2 separate regions of the Homo sapiens genome follow, and region 2 is linked to region 1. Evidence: promoter capture Hi-C in 16 types of primary human blood cells and fetal thymus (Javierre and others, 2016). All regions are on one chromosome and are shown on one strand. Each heading gives the region's core, a stretch centred on a gene start or on the middle of the fragment in contact. The rest is flanking DNA. Distances are from core to core; before and after follow the strand shown.

Region 1 (3,468 bases), core at 308-2,807:
TCCGCGGTCTACACCCACCCACTCCTTGGATGATCTCACCCGGCCTCGTGGCTGTAAACACCACCTCTCCCCTGATGAGTCCCCGCTGTTTCTCGGCAGTCCTGACCTCGGCCTGCCCCTCCGTGCACCCTCCGCGGTCTACGGCACCCTCTCACCCCCCACCCCCCTTCCCGCACCTATGCGTCTCCACAAGATCCGTAGAGCGCAAGCCAGCAGACCAAGCCTCCACGCCATCCTTGGCCCCTCTGCTCCTGGCCCCCCACTTTCCATCCATCGGGCAGTAACTTGGCTCCACATGCAGAGGGGACCCCGTGTCCATTCACCTCTCTTCTCCCTTGACCCCGTCACCTCCCACCTGGGCTGTTGCCACTGCCCCCCGCCCCGCCCCCACCATCACTCTCCAAGCTGGAAGTTTTTAAAAAGTAAATAAGATTATGTCACTCCATCCTCGTGCTTAAAATCCATTGCACTTAAGTAAAACCCAAGCTCCTTAATCCTGGTACGTAAACTCCTGCAGGCCCGCCCGGTTCCCGGTCTGCGCTCCTACCCGCCCTGCCCTCCTACCCGCCCTGCCCTCCTCTGGCTGGAGCCAAGTTCTCCCCTGCACCCCGCAACCGCCCCTGCTGCGGCGACCCTCCTCCTCCTCTTCCCTGGGATCTCAGCTTAAATGTTCCCCTTCTCTGAGTCTCCCCGACCACCACCTTATATGCTGGTCCCTGCAGTTTTCCTTTATGGTCTGTGCCCCCGGGTAGGACGCGATCCCCAGTGACGAGGACTTTGCTGGTTCCTCCTGTGGCCCCAGCACCTGCCGCAGAGCTCGGAGTGTGGTAGGCACTCAGCTGCTTTTCACTGAGCGAAGACTTTTTAGTTCTCCCGCTCACCGAGAGCCTACAATGTGCCTGGCACTGTGTGCCTTTCCCTGAATTACCTCTTTGAATCCACTTGGGAAATGGGGCATAATGGTCACTCCAGTTTTACAGTTGGAAAAACAGGCTCACAGGGGTGCAGTCACTTGCCCAAGGTTCCAAAAATAGTTCGTGATGTAGGCTGGATACGAACCTGGGGAAATTTGCTGGAGAAGCACAGAAAGAGAGGGATGAAGGAGGAGGGGAGAGAGAGAGAGAGATTTAATTTAAAAAGAGAAAGAACATGAGAGAGAACAGGAGAGAATGAGAGGAAATGAAAGAAAACACGAGAAAAATAATGAGAGAGAGAATGAGAGAAAGAAAGAAGAAGAGAAAGAGAAAATGAGAGATACAGGCAAGAGAGAGGTATCTCATGAGAGAGAATAAGAACATGAAAAGAGAAAGAATGAGAGAGAGAGAGAGAAAGAAAAAGGAGAGTGGAGTCTAGGATCTGGGCAGGGGTCTCCTCCCTGGGTCCCTAGACCCTGCTGCCAGCCCCTTCTGGGCCCCCAACCACTGCCTGGTCAGAGTTGAGGCAGCCTGAGAGAGTTGAGCTGGAAGTTTGCAGCACCTGACCCCTGGAACACATCCCCTGGGGGCAGGCCAGCCCAGGCTGAGGATGCTTATAAGCCCCAAGGAGGCCCCTGCGGGAGGCAGCAGGCTGGAGCTCAGCCCAGCAGTGGAATCCAGGAGCCCAGAGGTGGCCGGGTAAGAGGCCTGGTGGTCCCCCACTAAAAGCCTGCAGTGTTCATGATCCAACTCTCCCTACAGCTCCATGTCGCTGGATTCTCAGCCTCTGTGCCTTCTGTCTCCACATCTCTCTAGACAGATCTCTCACTGTCTCTAGTTAGGAGTCACTGTCTCTAGTTAGGGGTCTCTCTGTCTCTCTGAATCTATATCTCCATGTCTAACTCTCAGACTGTCTCTGAGGATATCTCTCAAGCACTCTGTCTCTCCGGCTCTGATTCTCTGTGTGTCTTCCCTCCATGCTTGTTTGTGGGTGGCTAGACACCATCTCTCCCCATTCACAGATGGCTAGATGCTTTCTCTAAACTTTCCTTTCTACCTAGTTCTCTCTCTCTCTCTCTTTTCCCATCTCTCTCTCTCTTTTTCTCTCTCAGTCTCTAAATCTGTCTCTCTAGGTTCTGGGTCCATGGATGGGAGAGGGGGTAGATGGTCTAGGCTCTTGCCTACCTAATAACGTCCCAGAGGGAAGAAAGGGAGGGACAAAGAGAGGGATGGAGAGACTTGGGCTGAAGATCCCCAGACACGGCTAAGTCTCAGTCCTCATCCCCAGGTGCTGACGTGATGGCCACAGCAGGAAATCCCTGGGGCTGGTTCCTGGGGTACCTCATCCTTGGTGTCGCAGGTATCTGAGTATGCGTGTGTGTGTCTGTCCGTGCTTGGGGGCACAGTGTTTGTTAATGTTCAGGTGTGACTCAGTGTCCTCTTGCTTGTGACTGCAAAGCTGCCTGTGAGACGGTACCGTGTTATCCGTCCCCCATGGCTGTGCCCCTGCAACTCCTTGTATCGTGGTAAATTTGTGTGTGGCAGTGTGCCTGGGTGTGTGGTTGTACCTGTGAGACTCTGACAGTTTGTGCCTCTGAATATCTGGTGGAGTGACAACAGTGTAATGATGATATGGGGACAGGGGAAGCCGAGGGTGCAGGAGATTGTGCTTCCTGGGGCGTGATCCATTGCTGGGAATCTGTGCCTGCTTCCTGGGTCTTCAGTCCTGAGATCCCCCTCTCCCATCCCCAAGGAACTCACCTCACAGGACTATAAAACGGTGTTTTGGTGTGCATGGGCTTGTGGCTTGGTGTGACTGTGGGCAAGGCTGGGAGAGGATAGGAGTGACTCGGCGCAGGACCGACTCTTTGAGCATCAGTCTGCGCAGACAAGTGACCCGATCCTTGCTCCCAGCAACAACTCCACCCCCTGAGCTTTAATTCACCCCGAAGGACCCGATCCTACTGCTATGAGCCTAGACTCCTCTGTTGAACCCCTCCTGACCGTGGCTTTGCACCGCGATGGCACCAGTCTCACCTCCAGAGCTCACCCCAGAGCCCTGACTCCGCCCCAGAAGCCCTGGTCCCACCTTCTGAGACTGCCTCTAGCCATAACCCAGCTCTTGAAGCCTTGATGGCGCCCCTGCGCTGTAACCCCAACCCTAGGAGCACTGATCCCGCCTTCTCAGCCCACCCCCATGCCCTGACTCTCCTCCCAGGAGCCCTGACTACCCTGAATCCCTGACCAGGCTCCTGCACCGTGATCACCGCCCCTGGGAGCCCTAGGCCTATATCCTGGACCAGCCCCTGAAGCTCCGATCATGACCCCTGCACCATAACCCCACCCCCAGGAGCCCTGGGTCCGCCCCCTGGGCCCGCCCCCAGCCCTGACTCGGCCCCCCAAGAGTCCTGACTGCTCCTGAAGCCCTGACCACGCCCCTGCTCGGTAACCCCTCCCCCAAGAGCCCTGGGCCCGCCTCCTGAGCCCGTTCCCAGCCCTGACTCCGCCCCGAGGAGCCCTGACTGCTCCTGAACCTCTGACCACGCCCCTGCTC
Region 2 (3,468 bases), core at 268-2,767, 660 kb after region 1:
GTTTGAATCCCAGCTCTGCCACTTAGGGGCTGTGTGATTTCAGGCATGTGAATAAACCTCTCTGTGCCTCAGTTTTCTCCTCTGTAAAATGGGAACTAACAACAGTACCCCAGCTGAGATTGAACCCGGGTCAGTGTGGCTCCCAGACTCCTCATCTCCCCCACGGGGTCTTCATCCAGGTACCTCACTGCCCAGCCTGGGGCCAGCAGAGGCCTCTGCCCAAAAGCTGGATTCTGAAACCCTCCCTGGCCTGTGGTCGCTCCACTCCACCCTCCCTGCTCATGGTGTGAGCTCCCACGATTGCCAAGACTCTGGATGCAGCCTCCTTAGGTCTCCCCGCCTCTACCTGCATCCCTGAACCCAATTCTCCATGCAGCAGCCAAGGGGATCTTTCTATGAAAGACAAACTGAATCAAGTCACTCCCTGGCTTAAAACCTCAATGGCCTCCTATGTAGTTTGAATAAAACTCACCTCCTTACTGTGGCCCCTAAGACCCTGCATGATCTGCCCCTTGCTGACATTTCTGACTGTGGATTCACCCACCCTCTCTCCCTTGCTCTTCAGCCTCACTGACCTGACCTCCTTCAATTTTCTTTTTTTCTTTTCTTTTTTTTTTTTTTTTTGAGACAGAGTCTCGCTCTGTCACCCAGGCTGAAGTGCAGTGGCGTGCTCTCAGCTCACTGCAACCTCTGCCTCCTAGGTTCAAGTGATCCTCGTGTCTCAGCCTCCCAAGTAGCTGGGACTACAGGCGTGTGCCACATACCCAGCTAATTTTTGTATTTTAGTAGAGACGGAGATTCACCATGTTGCCCAGGCTGATCTTGAACTCCTGAGCTCAATCTGTCCGCCTCAGCCTCCCAAAGAGCTGGGATTACAGGCATGAGCCCCCACACCCGGCCTCACTGACCTGCTTAATGTTCCCAACTCCCCAAGCCTGCTCCACCCCCAGGGCCTTTACACTTGCGGTTCCGTCTGCCTCGAACCATCTAGGTCTCATCTCGAATGTTTCATCCTTAGAGCTTCCTTAGAGAGGACTTTCCTGACCAACAAAACCTCCCCTTCACAGGTGCTCTCACCATCTAAAAGCATCCTGGGTTTTTGTTTTTTGTTTTTCTAGGATACCATGTTGCATTTACATCCTGTTTTTTTAAATTATTATTAAATTTTTTAATTTTTTTAGAGACAGAGTCTCAGTCTGTCACCCAGGCTGGAGTGCAGTGGCGCAATTACAGCTCGCTGCAGCCTCAAACTCCCGGGCTCAAGCAATCCTCCCACCTTGGCCTCCCAAAGTGCTGGGATTACAGGTGTGAGCCACCACTCCCAGACACATCCTGTTGAACTTTTATTATCCATTTCCTTACTATAACTTGAGGTCCCTGAGGGCCTGGTTATTTGTTTCGATGACTGCTTTTACGCCTGGCACCTAGACCAGGATCGGTAACGGAGCGGGCACTCAGCAAAAGTCTGTTGAGTGGTGGGAAAAACAGCATACACTGTTTAAAGACCCAGGGCCGGGGTGCGCGGCTCTTTCTGTGCCTGCCCACCGCCAGCCCCGCCTACCTGTTCCTTAGTCTGGGCTTTCTGCACATAGTCTCGGCCAACTTTGATGCGAGGGGTGAGCAAGGCTCGGGAGAAATCCGTCACCCCCAGTCCCAAGAGGCGGCAGAGCTTCTGTGCAGCTGAGGGCGAGAGGCACCAAGATTCCATCAGCACTGGGAAGAGGTGCTTGCTGCCCAGCAAGGGAGAGGGTACCGTTTCCCACACTGTTGGGGGAGCAGAAGACGGGCCCCGCCTTTCCCAGGAGAGGCATTACGAGTCCCAAAAGTGTGTACATTCTCTGCCCAACTATTTTTTTTCCAGGAACCAGCACTGGCAAAATAACCCTGCATGTGAGCAAAGACCGTGCCACAAGGATGTTCAGCGCAGTGTTGTTTATAATCGGAGAAAGCTAGGAAACAACCTCAGTGCCCAAGAAGCGGGAATTGGTTAGATGGGTCGGGCTTCATTCATTTGAAAGAATGTTCTGATGGTTTTTTTGTTTGTTTTGTTTTGTTTTGTTTGAGACAGAGTTTGGCTCTTATCACCCAGACTGGAGTGCAGTGATGCAATCTCAGCTCACTACAACCTCCGCCTCCCTGGTTCAAGTGATTCTCCTGCCTCAGCTCCTGAGTAGCTGGGATTACAGGTGCCTGGCCCATTTGAAAGAATGTTCTGCAGTCACTAAAAGCTACACTGGAGGCGGGGCACGGTGGCTCACGCCCGTAATCCCAGGGAGGCCCTTCGGGAGGCCAAGGTGGGCGGATCACCTGAGGTCAGGAGTTTGAGACCAACCTGGCCAACATGGTGAAACCCCGTCTGTACTAAAAATACAAAAATTAGCCCGACATGGTGGTGCGTGCCTGTAATCCCAGATACTTGGGAGGCTGAGGCAGGGAGAATCGCTTGAACCCAGGAGGTAGAGGTTGCAGTGAGCTGAGATGGTGCCACTGCACTCCAGTCTGGGCGAGACTTCATTTAAAAGAGGAAAGATGGAAGGAAGGAAGGAAGGAGGGAAGGAAGGAAGGAAGGAAGAAAGGAAGGGAGGGAGGGAGGGAGGGGGGGAATCCCAGTAGAGTTCTATCTAAAAGAAGGAAGGAGGGAGGGCAGGAGGAAGGGAGGGAGGGAGCGAGGGAATCCCAGTACAGTTCTATCTAAAAGAAGGAAGGAAGGAGGGAGGGAAGGAGGGAGGGAGGGAGGGAGGGAGGGAGGGAAGGGATCCCAGTAGAGTTTCTTGTGAATAACCTGAAAAGTTATCCCGAAAGCATTCAGGGGAAAAAAAAGCAGGTTTCAAAACAGTTTGCAGGGTCTGACTCCAGTTTTGTAAAACAAATGAGTAAATGTGTGTGCACGGCACACCTGCTGGGTGCCTATGTACAGAGCCCCCAGGTGCCTCAGGTAATGCTGTTACCAGCAGCATAGTGGGGTAATACATCCTGTCCTCCTATTTTCTGTGCTGTGCAGCTTTCAGAAATGAGCCCATCGGATTTCATAATCAGGACAGAAAGCTCTTGCTGTCTCCAGGGGAAGAGGGGGTGAAGCACGATTCCATTTCTGTGACACTCTATATCCACAGTGATACAGACACAGAACAAAGCCCAGAGAGACACATCCCAAAATGTGAGCAGCAATTATCTCTGGGAATATGATTATGGGTAATTGTCTTTCTTTTTCTTTTTCTTTCTTTCTTCTTCTTTTTCTTTCTTTCTTCTTCTTTTTTTTTTTTGGAGACAGATTCTTGCTCCGTTGCCCAGGCTGGAGTGCAGCGGCACAATCTCGGCTCAACTGCAACCTCCGCCTCCTGGGTTCAAGCAATTCTCCTGCCTCAGCCTCCTGAGCAGCTGGGACTACAGGCACCCATCACCATTCCCAGTTAATTTTTGTATTTTTAGTAGAGAAGAAGTTTTGTCATGTTGGCCAGGCTGGTCTCG

The links. Contacts are between HindIII fragments. The CHiCAGO score rates a contact against its expected background, and 5 or more counts as called.
Region 2: a fragment that was not itself captured here is called in contact with the fragment with the promoter of KLK4 in region 1 in 1 of 17 cell types (total B cells); the score reaches 5.4 in total B cells.

What each region holds. Positions count from the first base shown.
Region 1 is chr19:50,909,484-50,912,951 of GRCh38, reverse strand. It overlaps KLK4 (kallikrein related peptidase 4), which reads left to right and starts at 1,557. Exons shown (of 6, transcript NM_004917.5): 1 at 1,557-1,613; 2 at 2,203-2,274. The coding sequence starts at 2,214. The HindIII fragment of the contact is 22,926 bases long and covers 1-3,468 here.
Region 2 is chr19:50,245,216-50,248,683 of GRCh38, reverse strand. It overlaps MYH14 (myosin heavy chain 14), which reads right to left. Exons shown (of 43, transcript NM_001145809.2): 12 at 1,562-1,680. Among named protein-coding and RNA genes, the nearest start is that of MYH14, 43 kb to the right of the region's middle. The HindIII fragment of the contact is 6,027 bases long and covers 1-3,468 here.